Regions from separate parts of the Homo sapiens genome. Here all the other regions are linked to region 4. The links are contacts of gene promoters, found by promoter capture Hi-C in blood cells and fetal thymus (Javierre and others, 2016). All regions are on one chromosome and are shown on one strand. The core of a region is centred on a gene start or on the middle of the fragment in contact, and the rest is flanking DNA. Distances in the headings are between cores, read along the strand shown.

The links. The method cuts DNA at HindIII sites, captures the fragments that hold promoters and counts their contacts. A CHiCAGO score of 5 or more calls a contact.
Region 1: a fragment that was not itself captured here is called in contact with the fragment with the promoter of SLC9A9-AS1 in region 4 in 7 of 17 cell types (M2 macrophages, M1 macrophages, M0 macrophages and 4 more); the score reaches 7.5 in M2 macrophages.
Region 2: a fragment that was not itself captured here is called in contact with the fragment with the promoter of SLC9A9-AS1 in region 4 in 2 of 17 cell types (M2 macrophages and naive B cells); the score reaches 6.1 in M2 macrophages.
Region 3: a fragment that was not itself captured here is called in contact with the fragment with the promoter of SLC9A9-AS1 in region 4 in 7 of 17 cell types (M2 macrophages, M0 macrophages, fetal thymus and 4 more); the score reaches 9.7 in M2 macrophages.
Region 5: a fragment that was not itself captured here is called in contact with the fragment with the promoter of SLC9A9-AS1 in region 4 in 4 of 17 cell types (M2 macrophages, M0 macrophages, naive B cells and 1 more); the score reaches 8.6 in M2 macrophages.
Region 6: a contact is called between a fragment that was not itself captured here and the fragment with the promoter of SLC9A9-AS1 in region 4, in 1 of 17 cell types (erythroblasts). The highest score is 5.1, in erythroblasts.

Annotation. Positions count from the first base shown.
Region 1 is chr3:143,567,666-143,570,365 of GRCh38, reverse strand. All of the region lies in intron 8 of SLC9A9 (solute carrier family 9 member A9), which reads left to right. All of the region lies in intron 2 of LOC124906294 (a long non-coding RNA gene), which reads right to left. Among named protein-coding and RNA genes, the nearest start is that of SLC9A9-AS1, 230 kb to the right of the region's middle. The HindIII fragment of the contact is 2,412 bases long and covers 104-2,515 here.
Region 2 is chr3:143,539,127-143,541,826 of GRCh38, reverse strand. All of the region lies in intron 9 of SLC9A9 (solute carrier family 9 member A9), which reads left to right. Among named protein-coding and RNA genes, the nearest start is that of SLC9A9-AS1, 200 kb to the right of the region's middle. The HindIII fragment of the contact is 1,427 bases long and covers 568-1,994 here.
Region 3 is chr3:143,142,801-143,145,500 of GRCh38, reverse strand. No RefSeq gene overlaps it. Among named protein-coding and RNA genes, the nearest start is that of CHST2, 24 kb to the right of the region's middle. RefSeq lists an enhancer at 2,402-2,700. The HindIII fragment of the contact is 9,831 bases long and covers 1-2,700 here.
Region 4 is chr3:143,340,775-143,343,516 of GRCh38, reverse strand. SLC9A9-AS1 (SLC9A9 antisense RNA 1) reads right to left here and starts at 1,271. Exons shown (of 4, transcript NR_048544.1): 1 at 1,233-1,271; 2 at 1-167. All of the region lies in intron 14 of SLC9A9 (solute carrier family 9 member A9), which reads left to right. The HindIII fragment of the contact is 6,948 bases long and covers 1-2,742 here.
Region 5 is chr3:143,091,808-143,094,507 of GRCh38, reverse strand. All of the region lies in intron 2 of LOC105374138 (a long non-coding RNA gene), which reads right to left. Among named protein-coding and RNA genes, the nearest start is that of CHST2, 27 kb to the left of the region's middle. The HindIII fragment of the contact is 1,155 bases long and covers 844-1,998 here.
Region 6 is chr3:143,195,510-143,198,209 of GRCh38, reverse strand. No RefSeq gene overlaps it. Among named protein-coding and RNA genes, the nearest start is that of CHST2, 77 kb to the right of the region's middle. The HindIII fragment of the contact is 3,920 bases long and covers 1-2,700 here.

The DNA of each region.
Region 1 (2,700 bases), core at 60-2,559, 230 kb before region 4:
TCACGTCTTCACCACCCCAAATCTTATTAATCACTGCTAATTTGATAATCAAGTTCCATTTTCTTCCGGTTTACATTTATTATATTTTTATGAAGGAGAAGCTTTTTTAATTACAGGTCATTGGCTGTTTGTATTTCTTCTTTGGTGAACTACCAGTTTATGCCCTTTGTTACTTTTTTGTTGTTGTTAACTGTTTTCGTGTTGAGATGCTTATCTTTGTCACATTGTAGTTCAGTTACTCTTTATCTATGGAGAAAATTGGCTAGGACCAATGATGCATTTCTATAATCCCAGCACTTTGGGAGGCCAAGCAGGGAGGATTGCTTGGGCCCAAGAGTTCCAGACCAGACTGGACAACATAGTGAGACCCTGTCTCTAAAAAAAAAAAAGTATCTGGTCATGGTGGCACACACTGTGGCCCTAGCTACCAGGGAGGCTGAGGCAGGAGGATTGCTTGAGCCCAGGAGTTCAAGACTGCAATGAGCTATGACATGACTGCATTCTATTCTGGGCAACAAAGAGATACCCTGTCTCCAAAAAAAAAAAAAAAAGAAAAAAACAATAAAAGAAAATTAACCTTTTGACTGTCATATAGGCCATAAATATTCTCCAATTTGTGCTTGTACCTTTTAACTATGTTCTGTTTTGTTCGTTTGGGTAAGGGAAAGGGGTTGGCATAGGCATTTTCAAGTTTTATGTGGTTAATTGTATTGCCTCCTTAGAAAGCCCAAGTGAATGATATGTCCACAAACTTAGCAGCCTAAAAAATAATAAAAAAGAAAAAATATATAGAAAACCCAAGTGTTTCTTAATGATAGTGTATAATTTCTTTTAAAAGTTGTTTGATTTTGTTTTTGCATCAGAAACCAACTGGAATTTGTTTTGATATGAGGTGTGGGGTATAGTAGCGATTTGATTTTCTTCCCAGATGATAAGTCACCTGTCCTAACACCCATCAACTTTTGCCTATTTAAAATGTCTATGTATGTGCACATACATGTATGTGTATGTGTATCTGTATGTTCTGGGCTTTCCATTGTTCCACCGAATGTTTGATATTCACTGTGTCAATTATTTCAGCTTCATGGTTTATTTTAATATCTAGTAGGTCAGTCTTTCACTCCTCTTCCCCATATTCAAAAGTTCCTTTGCTATACCTGTGTATTTATTATTCCTGATGGACTTGGAAATAACAGGTTCCAAACAGAAAATAATTTTGGAATTATAATTGGGGTACATTAAATTTTTAGATTAATTTGAAGAGAAATGGCATTTTTATAACATCAAGTCTTCCCACCCAGGAATATGTTATGACTCTCCATTTATTTGAGTCTTATTTTACGGCTCTCAGTAAATTTTTACAGTTGTCTTCACATTAGACCTACAAATTTCTTGTTAAGTATCTTTTCAGCAGCTACTTTATATTTTGGGGTGCTACAGTAAATGGGAACTTCTTTATAGTTTCTAACTGGTTATTGTTTGTATATGTGCATCTAGATTGCACTGCACTATTTGATTTATTCTCTGTAGCTCTAAAGTACAAAATTAGAGCTGATGGAGAATTAGGATTAATGGGCAGAAGTTAGACTGTCAAGTTCAGGAGGGCTTTGTCAGCACCAAAAGAATGTCTGAAGCATTGTGGGCACAAAATAAATATCGTTCGAGCAGTGGAATGAATAATTTTCACTCACAAAAGAAAAAAGTTTCAAAACCTGAATAACAGATCACTTTATAAGGTAGTAAGTGTTCTGTGCCCAATAATATTCCTACAGATTTTACACATCCTCTGGTCCAAACATTTCACAGCAGATCCATACGTCAAGTAAATGATATCTCATAAATTGCATTAATCTGTAACCTTATTTTCCCAATTATTAAGTTAAAAAATGAAGACATATAGGCATGAAAGGAACAGCTCTGTCTAGAAGAATGTGGTGGACATGTGTTGGTTCTGGCTGCCCCAACACATTCTCACTTCCACTGGTAATAGCATCCTAATGTTTCTTAGGAAACTACCCCCAACTCCAATGGATAACATCTTCTAATCAACGTGTCCCACCCTCCCCTGACAAAGAGAATTAGGACATCTGAAGGTAGGACAACTAGACACTCTTCCCCTGGTATGTAAAACTTTAGGAGGGAGAGAGGAGGCTGTATAACTGCTGGCACCTCCTCAATAGCAGAGCCCTATTGAGACCCTCTATTTATTTATTCCTGCCACCAGATCCCTGGAGCAGCCATGATGCCTCCTTTCTAAGAGCTATCACACTTCCTTCCAATAAATTCCTTTCTGATTATGCTAGCCAGAGTCTGTTTTTATTACTTGCAAACAAAGAAATCTAAATGGTACAAAGGAAGGAATAGTCCATGAGGTATTTCAACAAAAGAAATTGTATAACTTTGTGACAGATCAGAAGGGAAGACAGTCTCAAAGACGGCACAGCCTCTAGGCTAGGATACTTGGGACCATCTTATGCCAGGTGCATACTGATAAACGAACAAAAAGAATCAAGCTTTTAAAGACAGTTTGCAGTGTTCATTATCCTTTCCAATTCAGCTTCTTACCAGATTCATCATGAACACTTCAGTGTAAGCAGCTTGCTCATTAACACGTGGCCTGCATTCACTTTCAGTTGTTACTAATTTGATGATGATCATTTGATTTATTTTGATCATCTTTTGCTTCAAGGGCCACATTTG
Region 2 (2,700 bases), core at 32-2,531, 200 kb before region 4:
AATCTGTTTATCATAGCATATAATTGCAGTTGGAAATTTTAAGTCATGAAATCAAAGAAGTTCAGAGCTAAGGGAAACTATAAACTTTTGAACCCAGAATTTTATTGGAGGAAACTGAAACCCAGGGAAATTCAATGACTTCAAGGGCTTGGACCAGTTTTCCAACCCAGGGTCAACCTGGACATGGGTCATTGCTCAAGGGATATGCACTGTCAATTAAAAATACACAGCACCTGCCTCTAAAAACATTTGGTATATTTGTTATATATTGCTGTGTAACAAATTACTCCCAAATTTAGCAGCTTTAAACAACAAACTTGTATTATTATTTCGTATAGTTTGTGAAGTCCTGGAATCCAGGAGTATCAGCTTTGCTGGGTGGCTTTGGCTCAGGGTCTCGTGAGGTTGCTGACAAATTGTTGATCAGGGCTTCCGTGTCTCAAGGTTTGGCTGGGGCTAGAGAATTCTCTCCAAGAGCCTCATTTACGTGGCTGTTGGCAGAAGACCTCAGTTCTTCCACCTGTGTCCTCCATCGGGCTGCTTGGGTGTCCTCGTGATGTGAAAGCTTACTTTGCCCAGAGCAAGTGAAACCAGAGAGAGCAAAAAGACAGAAGCAATGGTTCTGATTAACTAGTCTCTAAAGTTGTTTACTGTCATTTCTGCCATATTCTATTTGTTAGAATCGATTCCGTAAAATTGGACCATGAGCAATGGGAGGGGATTAATTCATTTACATTTTGAAGTGGTGGTGGGGGAAGGGGTGTCAAATAATTTGTGGACATTTTAAAGTACCAGGAGACCCAATGCCATTTTTGGAAGAAATTGTTTGATAGTGCTTTTAATTTCGTATATGGTTGAATATTTAGGTTTTCTGCTTCTTCATTCAATTTTAGCCATATCCATTTTCTTAGTAAACCATCTATCCTACCCAGGTTTTAAAAAATTTAGTATCAACAATTGTTGAACACTATAATGTGTCAGGCACTGAACATATATGTTTCATATAAGTTATTCTTATTAATGTTCACATAAAATCTACAAGGTGAAGACTATTATTAATCAGATTTTATAGTCTTAGAGAAGTTAAGGCCACACAAAGAATAGAGTAGTGCATCACAACTCGTTGTTTTTAATGTCCTTTGTATGTATTTGAGTATAGACCTTTTCTTACAGAAAATTGCATGCATGTATTTTCCCCTTTTATTAAATTTATGAAACTTTACACGTGATCCTGATCATTTTCAATTTATTTATGCATTCTATTGTTTTATCCTTTTATCACTAATCCATTCTTCTTCCTCTCCTTGGGCTTTCTGTTTTTCTTCCCTGTCCCCTTAACAGAGGATGATGAAGGGAACTCCGTTCCTGCAGATCACCACTCTCCTCCATTTTTTTATTTCCCTGCTTTACTACAACCCTGAGAGGGCCTTAATAGGTAGAGCCAAGAATAGTCTTTTCTTTTTTCACCAAAATATTGGTGCTGTCTCATCATCTATCCTGTTCACCTATTTATCTTATGACAGATATTATTCTGTTTTGCCTCTGCTGGCTTGCTTTCTTCAGGATTCATCAGCATTCTACATAACTAAGAGTACTTGAACAATGTTATTGTTGTTTTATTCTGCTTCTTTATCACCATCATAAAAGGCTCTGTATCAGAGTCACCTCCCAAGACTATCTCTACCCAATAGGCAATGTCTTGGTGGCACATACTAATTTACCTTTAAATGTCTTACTAACAAGTCTCCAAAATCTTCCCTTAATTTTTCTTTCTCATCCCCACCAAGCCCTAAGAAAGTATACTTACCTCATTTAGCCTTTTCTAAATATTAATTTTCTTTATTATATTTTCCCCCAAATCATGGTTTTGTATTCTTTCTCACTATGTAGAGCCCCAACTCCTTAAAAAGATAGTGCTCACTTGCACACTCTCTCTCTCTCTCTCTCTCTTAATTTTTCACTTTTAGAAAACAAAAACTACCATCATCAAAGCTTGGATATCAACATATAAATTTCATGTCCTTCTATGTATGGATCTGATTCAATGCATAATGGAAAATTTTATATGAATGGAATTTAGGAGATCAGCTGGCCTGGTACCTGCTTTGATAACACTCAAGACAGATGGTCGCCCACTATTACCTTAAAATTTCTAAGGATGGCAATGGCATAACCCCCTTTAATAGCCCATTACAGTTTTATCATCCTGTTTGATAGGTGTAAGTATGAAGGGCTTCAGTCTCATAATGGCATTTTAGAATGATAAATGGAAATTACTGTAATTTTTCTACTTATTTCAATTAAATTTTATTGATGCAATGCAGAAAACATCAAGGCTGAATATGTGTGCCTGAGCATGTGTTTGTTAAAGAATGTTGCCAAATTTAAGGATGCCATTTCCTTAATAATCTTGAAAGATGCAGCAAATGTATTTAATAAAACGTTAAGTCTTTGTGCAATTCCTTCAGAAAAGAAATTGAATTGCTTCTGGAGGCACAGCTCAAAAATCCAAAGAATCCTATCAGTGGAGATATGATATATAACTCCTAATAAAGTACCCGAGAGGGAAATCTAACAAGTGAGAACAAGAGTTTGGTTTTAGGAGAGTCACTTAATACAATTGCTCTGGGTTACATTGAAAAAGGACTTGATTGGAATCAGCTGTGACCAATCTCTTCTTAAGGGAGAATAAACTGTTAT
Region 3 (2,700 bases), core at 4-2,503, 200 kb after region 4:
AACTCCTGGCCTCAAGCAATTCTCCCCTTTTGGACTCTCCAAGTGCTGGGATTATAGACATGAGCCACCTCAACCAGCCTAGACTTGTTTCTTCTAGGTAAAGTTGATATTAATTGACACAGGCATTGCAGACTTGTTCTAAGACAGATTTGTTATTCCTATACTGACCCTGGGAATGCTAGTGACCAAAACGGGCAAGGTCCCTGCTCTAAAGGGGCTCCCATTCTAGCCACATGTGTCAAGTAAACAAATGAGCCAACAAAATATCAGATAATGGTAAGTACAGTGAAGAAAATAAAACTGGGGTTGGAAAAGACAGTACCCATGTAGTCAGAGAAGGCTCTCAGAGGAGAGGATCTTTAAGCTGAGACATGTGTGGCAAAAGGGAAGCAGCCATGCAGCAATCTCAGTAAAAAGCATTCTAGGCAGAGGGCACTGCAAGTGCAAAGGCCCTGAGGTGAGCCTGTGCCATGTTCCTTTCCTTCACCACTAAAGTAGGTCCATGGCACAACAGATCTTCTCATGGCAGCATTTCCCCAACAGATGGTCTAGTACTTCAGGGCAGAACATGGGCACGTTTCTCCTACAGAAAATGGCCACTTTACTGAAGAAATGGACGTCCTGCTAGGGGATCATATGGACACAGAATCCCAAGACAGGAGGGAAATATAAGTGCTAGTTTCTAGGTGCAAGAACTGATCTACAGAACCCCCTTTTGAATTCTCCAGGACAATTACAAGCAGCAACCACACATAGAATCAAAGTAGAAGCATATGTGTGGGGGGGGGCAGTAAGGAGTTCTGAGAAGGTGTCTGGCAAACATCAGCTCATTTGTTTTTAAGAAATACTGAGGAATCATACACCCTATTGGCAAGTAGGCTGATCTGGGTCAGTCACAAGTTTTCCCCTGCCCCATACCTCTTATGCTGGCAACAGTACCTTAATCTACAAAGGGAAATTGGAGCTGAGGACTACCAGTTTGGGCAGCAGGAGCCAATAAGAAGATGAGTCTCCATGGGCTGGGATGAGGGAAGTTGACTTCTACATCAGGGGCTTGGGTGAAGACATGATGCTCCCAACTGGCTTCCAAATGGTATCATGTTATGTCTTGAGAGGCTAGAGAGGAAGACTTGAATGGGTCTTATTTTTTTCGATTATAAGGACAGAACTACATAAGAAGCATGGTTCTGTTGAAAGAGTCATTCAAAATGCACAAGAAGTAACAGAGCTATCTGTGTGTCTTTTCCAAGCCTGCTGTAGATGTCCTTCCCTTTGGAAGGACAGTGCCATTGTAAAGTCTGGTATACATCCAATTCAGATGTATCTCTTGAACAGTAACTACTTTTATTATAACAACCCAAGTTTGATCATTTCACAAACTGCTCACCTTTGAGGAACTAGCTGGAGGCAACAGCAACACCAAAGAAAGTGCATTGTTATGATAATATATAGAATTCCTCCTAACATCTCTCTTGAAATCTTGCATTTTGCCTTCTTTATATTTGCACCAACTACATCAAACACAATGTAGAAAAGTCTTTGACATTCTAGATAAGAAGAATTAGGTGTTTTGATTTATATGATTACTCTAACTGCATTAGCCCTGGGGAAGTTGTTGACTAAATCAACATGATTGAATCATGTTCCAAGGGTTTCTCACCGTACTTCTGTTTGATGTATAGAGTGATTTTGATGAGGAATCCATAGAAAATGAAATAGAGACATCCTTCACCAAAATGGAACAGATTAGCTTTTGCACTGGAAGATTTGGCCTTAGAGTTCATAAATTACCTGTTGACTATGCATATAACTCCATGATATCCCTCAGGGAAATGGATGTTTCAGCGTATCAGCTCTGCTGAGATTTGATATGATTCAACCATCTTGGCAGATGTATTACCAACTGGGAAACTGAATTTTTAACTAAAGTTGTATGTACACAACAGCACAACGGTTCAAAAAATGAAAAAGTGTAGTTAATTAAGATCTAACAATGCCAAACAGCTAGCCAAGCTGGTTTTTGCTCCACTAAACTGACCAGTGGCTTAAGAAAATGGACTCAGCTAACCAGTTGATAAGGAACTGAATAGATACATTCACACCAAAACATACAAGTATATAATCAGAGTTATATTATCCATAATCTGTTCTCTTTTCAGCTGTGGCAGCAATAAATGTCGGTACTCACAAGTAAATAGATGAATTGTTAGAACAGTAAATATTCAATAAATGTTTGCTAAAACACAGTAAGTAAAAATATATATATATACTGAAATTTCTATTAGAATAGTAGTTTATGTCTTGATACTTTACAGGCCATAAAAATAAGTTGATACTAAAGAGATAACTGAGAAGAAAGAATGAAAAATGTAAAACAGCGACACCTAACAAAACCCTCTTGTATTGAGATAATTGTTCTGGTTGAATGACCAGATACAGCATCCAGATGTTAATCTCTAAATACCATTCTCCAATAAAAAGGAATTTGGCTCCTTGGAATAATGGCTGATTCCAAGACAAAGAAAGGAAAGTAAAAGATAACCTTGGACCATATTATGCTTCTAAAAATAAATGCTCGAAAAATGATGAGGCATGTCAAAATGCACAGGAACCAACTGGCCAAATCTGGGACGGTTATAGGTGGGTCTTTTTTCTTAGAGCTCCCAAGATGGGGCGGGCAGCTCCCAAGATGGCAGCAAG
Region 4 (2,742 bases), core at 22-2,521:
TGAATCCAAGACCACATTAGGAAACCATGCCGTTGATTTTTTCGACTACTGCTTGTGGCAGTTCTTGCCTAGCTGTTGAAAGTTACTTTTTTTCCCCTCTTTACATCTTGGTAGAACATCTTATTCTGAAAATTGACTATCTCTCATCCTCCATTCCCACGCTTTGCCTAGAAAATGAAAAGATGTTTAAAAGAATGCCCTCCTGTTCTTGCCACTACAAAAAAATCAAAACATTTCCTGTCATACACTCACACACAATTAGTCTCCTTAACAATAAAGAGGAAAAGAAGTGGGAAAAAAATATCCATGACCTCTGTTGGTATTAAGTCTATAGGATACACTCAGCAGAGTCAAACCATCTAGCACAATCAAAACCATTATCTCCTCCTCTGGGTGTCTAAACTGCCCATATCAGTCATTTCAGTGAATAAAGAAATAAACAAACACTAGAAAATAGGATAGTTGTAGATTTGAGAAACAGTAAAAGTGTGGTGCTATGTATAGCAATGATATCACTTGTATTATTACAGTCATTTTTATATTACTAGCATTTGGGGATTATATCATCTAGCATTTGAGGTTGTTTTGACAATTTGTTCACATATAGATAAGAAAGAAGGAATGATCTTTTCAAAGAGAGATGCATGGTTAAAAGCGTGGCGCGTGTATATTTGCATGCACATGCACCTGCACCTGAGGTTGAACATGCACCAGATACACCATACCCCACCTGAGTGATTAAATAGATCACTCAATAGGAATTTTTCAGGTCATTTTCAGTTTTCTCAGTCTTTTGAAATAAGGTGATATTTTATGGTGCCCACAGTGGTTTGTGTCTACAAGCATTGCCTAATTTTAAAACCTTAAGTTAATCTTGACAAATCTGGCTATTGGAAGCTGTTTGGCCTTGAAGGTTATTTTATTTGTGAGTCCTGCTCTAGTTGCTACATAGATGGTGGCATTGGGTGGGGTGTTTAAAATCTAAGATAGTCCAATAAATAAACTGAAATACATCAGCAATAAGGTTTATAAGTGACCTCATGAGGAATCATCTAGCTTCTTAGATCAGGGTCTGCTGGTCATAAGGGTGGATCACTTGAGGTCAGCAGTTCAAGATCAGCCTGGCCAATATGGCAAAACCCTGTCTCTACTAAAAATACAAAAATTAGCTCGGTATGGTAGCACATGCCTTGTAATCCTAGCTACTTAGAAGGCTGAGGTAGGAGAATCACCTGAATCCAGGAAGCAGAGGTTGTAGTGAGCCAAGATGGTGCCACTGCACTCCAGCCTGGGTGACAGAGTTAGACACTGTCTCAAAAAAAAATAAGAAGCTCTAATGTTTGTTTCATTGAGAGATCCCTTCCTAAGGGACCCAACAAGCAGCTTCAATGATGGTCAGTAAAGTATGAACCTTATAACCATAGTTTCCACGTTTCCACCTTTGCCTCCTACTGAGGCGGCAGCAGAGCTGGGTCCTGACTGTGATGCGGTATTCCCATAACACAGCTCCACATCCAGAGGTAGTTTCACCCGGAATCAATGAAACTCAGCTTTCAGGGCTCTTCATCTGCATGGGTCCTTTGTAAGGGACCAGTGTTGATATTCAAAAGTGTGCATTCTTTTTATTAAGAATAGCCTCCAAAATTAGGTAACCTTCAGACTTCATGAAATCTGGATCTATCCCCGTCCATGTGAGTAAACACTACAGGGAAAATATGATAAATTAACGGTCTTATCATAATATTAAGTATTACAATAAATTATATGATTGTAAAAAATTTCAGTCCCTAGCACCTATATAACACTGTGTTCTGTATTTGCATATCGGAGTCATTTTGGTAAACAAAATTTTAATTTATTTGAACAGGGTTCGGGAAATCCTCAGGAAGTTTAACTTGCAATTTGGTATCTGAAGCTAATGTTATTCCTCTCCACATTTCTCCTCAAACATTTGGCACAGCTTTTCCTACCGTGGCAAGCAACTTGTCCCATTCTGAAAAGTGTGTTAAATTCACAGATACCCAATAATGATTATTGCAGGGTGTTCTCCAACACGTTTCATCCCTTGGTCTAAATTTACATTGTATGACTATGACCTGGGATGACTCTCTTGCCCTCCCTTGTAACTCAATACAGTTATGAATGGATGATTATTTTTATAAAATCCTACTCTGGAGTTCCCAAATTGACAGGCATTGGAGGCTCCCAAACCGACCCCATCTCAGGTATATATTCTCAAGACCAAAAGTTTATGAAAGCTAAGCCCCCTTAAGCCCCCACTACTCCAAAGGAACTGCAAAACAGCACATGAACAGTGAAAAAGATCCTAAAGAAATTCACCTCCCGATCACACCAAATTAATGCTATCCTGAGATACATCCAGCGAAAGGAATTCATCATATTCCACATAAGTGCCAAAAGACATTTGGACAGACTTTCAGCCTAAAGGATAGTGAGAGGGATAGTCTTAAAAATTTTAAAGATTTCTTTAGAACTTTCTTAGAATTAAGTGTCCTATTCAGCTTAATTGTTCTGCTACCAGCAAAAGTGATAAAGTTCAGGTGATCCTAAATGCAGAAAATATGTGGAAGTGAATAAAGCCTTCTGCACTAATGACTAGCAAATTTCAATAGATTTCCAATCTCTCTTTTTCACATTTCTTGTACCAACTCATTTATATTGTCATTCTAGAAAGAGCACATAAAAGGGTGTCTGGAGATAGATTTCTGGATGTTAAGAGAA
Region 5 (2,700 bases), core at 172-2,671, 250 kb after region 4:
TCATCCCCCAAAAAGTAAAAATAAAAACAAAAACCACAAAGAGCTACTACACACCACCGCCAAAAATGTAAAAAATCTGGCAGTGCCAACTGTTAGTGAGAATAAGAATTCTTATACACTGCTGGTGAAAATCATAAATTGTTGCTACTTTGGAAAAAATGGTTTTGGCATTTCCTAGCAAACGTGAGCATTTTGATACCCTAAAACCCAGCAATTCTGGGTCATTCACTATTCCTTATTTACTGGGCATATTCATTAGAGAATCTGTGGACATGCACACCAGAATGCTTAGGCCAGAACCTTCAAAACTACACTGTTTATAAAACCCAAAGAGCAAAAACAAATACAAATGATTTATAATTATATAGTCAAATGATGGAATATAAAATGGAAAAGAATGAACTAGAGCAGCAATCTCCAACCTTTTTGGCACCAGGGACTGGTTTCATGGAAGACAATTTTTCCACAGATGAGGACAAGGTTGGTTTCAAGATGAAACTGTCCCATCTCAGATCCCTCGAATGCACAGCTCACAATAGGGTTGGCGCTCCTATGAGAATCTAATGCTGCCGCTGACCTGACAGGAGGCAGAGCTCAGGCAGTGCTGCTTGCTCGCCCACTGCTCACCTCCTGCTGTCCAGCCCAGTTCCTAACAGGCCTCAGACCAGTACCAGTTTGCAGCCCAGAGGCTGGGAACCCCTGAACTAGAGTATAAACAAATACATGAATAAATTTTGCTATTACAGTGTTGACTAAAAGGAGCAAAACATAGAGTATTATCTCCCTCTGCCCAGAGAAACCAGCCTCCTCCTCTCCGCTCAGGGAAAAGTACCCTGTAAAGCTTCCCAGTGCCCAGTGACTCTGTCATTCTCTACCCTGCCAAAACACAAATTAATTGCCTGTGCTTCTCAAAGGGTCATAGAATTTCAGAACAAGAAGGAACCATAAGGAAAAGAGACTGAAAGATGTAAAGAGGGTATTTGAAATGACAAAACTACAAAACTAAAAAAAAAAAAAAAAAAAAAAGGTCAATTTCTGCAGGGGAAATACCCAAACACCCCACACCTTGCCCTTTTCATTCCATCTCATTAATTAACTTCTCCTGACTGGAGTTTCGCAAACTCTATTATAAAAGAAAATGTTAATGACCACCCACAGTAAGAAGTTGATTTTATGTCACAACACTGTACATACACACACAAAATTTCACAAAATAATATTTACATATTACGTAAGATGCACTCTGATATTTTCCATTCTACTCTATTTTTAATGCTATTCTTAAGCCCAGAATTATTTTCATGGAGTATTAATGGATTATAACCTATATTTTGAAAAACAGTCTGCTCCACAATGCCTCTTTGGCCAGATGGCAAGGAGCTCTGCCTTCAATCCTGGCTCAGCCACTTAGGAGTTCTGAGGCCTTGGGAAAATTACTTAGCCTGTCGGAGTCTGTGTTCTCATCTATAATATGGGATCATTATGTTTACTAGGTTATCATAAGGGTTTAAGAAATGTATATGTAAGGAATTAGCACAGTGCCTGACACACAACGAGTGGTCAATAACCAGTGGCTTTGCTATCAGTTTATCTATTTTTGAATTATATTCTTCAACTGCATGACTTCTCTAGAATGCTATGGCTCACAGAAAGCTGCTGTGAGGGACAGTGTCCTGTCACCTCCCAGATTCCTGCCTTGGGGACACAAACTCAGAATTCAGCTGATAGATTCCAGTGGAGATTAGGGGATGAGGAAGCGTGGGGAGAAGGGAGGAAGAGAGGCAGTTTTCTATCTTCCAAAGCCTGTGAGCACAGACCATTTCATCCTCCTAAGCACAGATTGAGAGGCTGCCAGAGCTACAAAGAGTCTTTAAGGTAATCAAAACAAAATTCCTAATGTGAGATCTGAAGGGAACATTTACTAGCTTGCATCAGGAAGAATGGCTTAGAACAGTGGCACCCAGTTTGAGAAGGGGCAATTTTGTTTGGAGGTAAGCTTTTAAAAACCACAAACATACACACACTCACACAGGCATGACCATGCATGCACACACACACACACACACACACACTCCTCTGAGTTGGCTGATAAGAGTAATCATATAGTGCAACAGGCCCATTTTACAGATAAGGAACCTAAAGTCCATAGAATGACTAGCTGAAGGTCATAAGATCTGGGCCAGGAACACAGTTCTCTTCTTAGCCAATGCCTTTCTCCCTCTGCAGCTGCCAGCTGCATACTTCCAAAGCATGCCCTAGACACCCACTGTGCCTCATGCCCCTGCATACAGTGGGGTTACATACTCGTTTTGGAAAACTATGGACACTTAACCTTCTCTTCCTATTTTTTTTTACAAGAACCAAAATTGTTCTGTTCATTTGTTTGTTTTTTGTTTTTTATTATTTTTGGTGGGGGTAGGGTCTCACTCTGTCACCCAGGCTGGGGTGTGGTGGTGCAATCATGCTTCACTGTAGCCTCAAACTCCTGGGCTCAAGCGATCCTCCCACCTTAGCCTCCTGAATAGCTGGGACCACAGGTGTGCACCACCAAACCTGAGTAATTTTTTAAATTTTTTGTAGAAATGAGGTCTCACTCTGTTGCCCACACTGGTCTTGAACTCCTGGCCTCAAGCGATCCTCCTGCCTCAATCTCCCAAAGTGCTGGGACTACAGGTGTGAACCACCACACAAGTTTTTTGT
Region 6 (2,700 bases), core at 158-2,657, 150 kb after region 4:
TCATGTTGCTGGTGTTTGTGGGGGAAAATAAAATAAAATTTATCACCATTAAAAAACCTCTAGGGCAGGGCTGTCCAATCTTTTGGCTTTCCTGGGCCACATTGTAAGAAGAACAATTGTCTGGGGCCACACATAAAATACAGTAATACTAATTATAGCTGATGAGCTAAAAAAAATTGCAAAAAAAAATCTCATAATGTTTTAAGAAAGTTTGTGAATTTGTGATGGGCTGCATTCAAAGCCCCCATGGGCTGCAGGTTAGACAAACTTGCTCTAGGGTATTTAATGTATGCAATCTTTACAATCAGCCTCATTAACCCATGGGAGAACTATCGTCTATAAAACAGACTCCCCTTCACATCTTCTCCTCAAGCCACATGTTGACTTTCCATGATGTCTTTTCCCTAAAGTCTTCCCATGATACTCACTTTATTCTAATTTCACTTAGATAAAATGTAAAACTGGCCCCCAAATACATATAACCCAGAGACTTTAGTGAAATCATATAAGCCAAAAGTAGATGTGACTCTATTAGGGAATAAGCTAATGGTGCATAGAAAACTGAATCTCAGAGTGCAAAGAAAATAAGGCTCAAGCAGAAGTTGGAACCATTTTTCCTGGAGGAGATGCAGAGAACCTCCAAGCTCAGAGTGAAAGGTTCAGGGAGCAAAAATGTATCTGGGGGCTGTAATCAGAGTGATTAATTAAAGGGCAGAATACAAAACAGCCAAACCAGAGTTCCTACATCTCTCACTTCCACGTTTATTAGTGAACATGTCAGCCACGTGATTGGCCTCCACATAAAGCCAGAGCTCTGTCCTATAAAAATGTTGAGTATTTCTCTTGTAAGTCTTAGTCTGCTTGTGCTGCTATAAAAACTGGGTAATTTATAAATTGAGACTCAGACTGAGGAATTTATAAAGAACAGATGTATTTCTCCCAGCTCTGGAGGATGGGAAGTCCAAGAGCAAAGAGGCAAATTTGATGTTTAACTGAGGATCCTGTCTCTGCCTCCAAAATGGTGTCTTGAATGCTGTGGTCTCCAGAGGGGAGGAATGCTGTGTCCTCACACGGCAGAAGGCAGAAGGGCAGAAAGGGACAAACTCCCTCCCTCAAGCCCTTTTATAAAGGCACCGACTCCCCTTCACCAGAGGGGAGCCCTCATGGCCTAATCACCTATTAAAGGCCACAACTCCTTGATATTGCTGCATTTAGGATTAAATTTCAGCATGAATTTTGGAGGGGACAAAAATACTGACATCACAGCATCTTGAGAATACTGACTTTTTCACATAAGTAGTGGTTCTGCACAGTAACGTCCATCCTATTTTGGCATTTTTTAAGAAGGGAAGTATGCTGAGATTTGCTGTGAAAATGGATCAACTCAGCTACAGAAGAAAACTTTAGAACTGCCTTAGTGGTCCATATTAATCAGTCTAATCCTTTTTTTACAAAAAGGAACAAGCCGCCAAGGTTTAACAAACATTTAAGGGAAATCAACAGCTTGTAAGTGAATCTCTAAGGCAAAAAGAATGACTGATTACCAAGGAGGCATGTACAGACTGAAAAGAGACTACAACCATCAAAACAGAACCAAACACTTCAACACAGGACAGAGAACAAATACAATGTTTTGCAAATTAAAAAATAACTGTCAAAATAAAAACCATAGGTACAAAAATATAATTAGAATGAATAAGATCTAGTATTTGATAGCACAACAGGGTGACTACAGTCAACAATAATTTATTATACATTTTAAAATAACTAAAAGAATATAATTGGATTGTTGTAACACAAAGAAGGGATAAATTATTGACATGATAGATACTCCATTTACCCTGATGTGATTATTACACATTGTATGTCTATGTCAAAATATCTCATGTACCGCATAAATATATCACCCATGTACCCACAAACATATATAAATATGTCACCATAAATATATCATCTATGTACCCACAAAAATTAAAAATAAAAAAACTATATAAGAGCTAGAAGACAAAGTCAAAGAAAGATTACAGATAAAAAATAGGAAGAAGAAGTTTTTTTAAAGGAAGAGAAAAACTTAAATGATATGATAGATTGTGTAAAGCCATTATTGCATTGCTATAAAGAAATACCTGAGACTGCATAATTTATAAAGAAAACAGATTTAATTGGCTCACAAATCTGCAGGCTGTAACAAATGGTTCCTGCCTTTGCTCAGCTTCTGGGGAAGCCTCAGGAGCTTTTACTCATGGCTGAAGGCAAAGTGGAAGCAGGCATGTCACGTGGTGAAAGCAGGAACAAGAGAAAGTGGGAGAGGTGCCACATACTTTAAACAACCAGATCTTGTGAGAATTTACTCACTACTGGGACAACAGCACCTAGCCACGAGGGATCCGCCTCCATGACCCAAACACCTCCCATCAGGCCCCACCTCCAACATTGGGGAATTACAATTCAACATGAGATTTGGGTGGGGACAAATATCCGAACTGTATCATAGCTCTAACTTCAATCCAGGAATTCTAATACCAACCCAACAGGAGTTCCAAAGATGAGGAAGAAAAGGAGTTGGAAGAAAGGAAATAAAACAACCATAGGAAAAAAAAACTCCTAGAGCAGTAGCAAGCCCATCTTGGATGCTGCAATTACTGAACACAAAGGCCTACACCTAAATATATTCTCATGAGATTTTGAAATATCAACAAT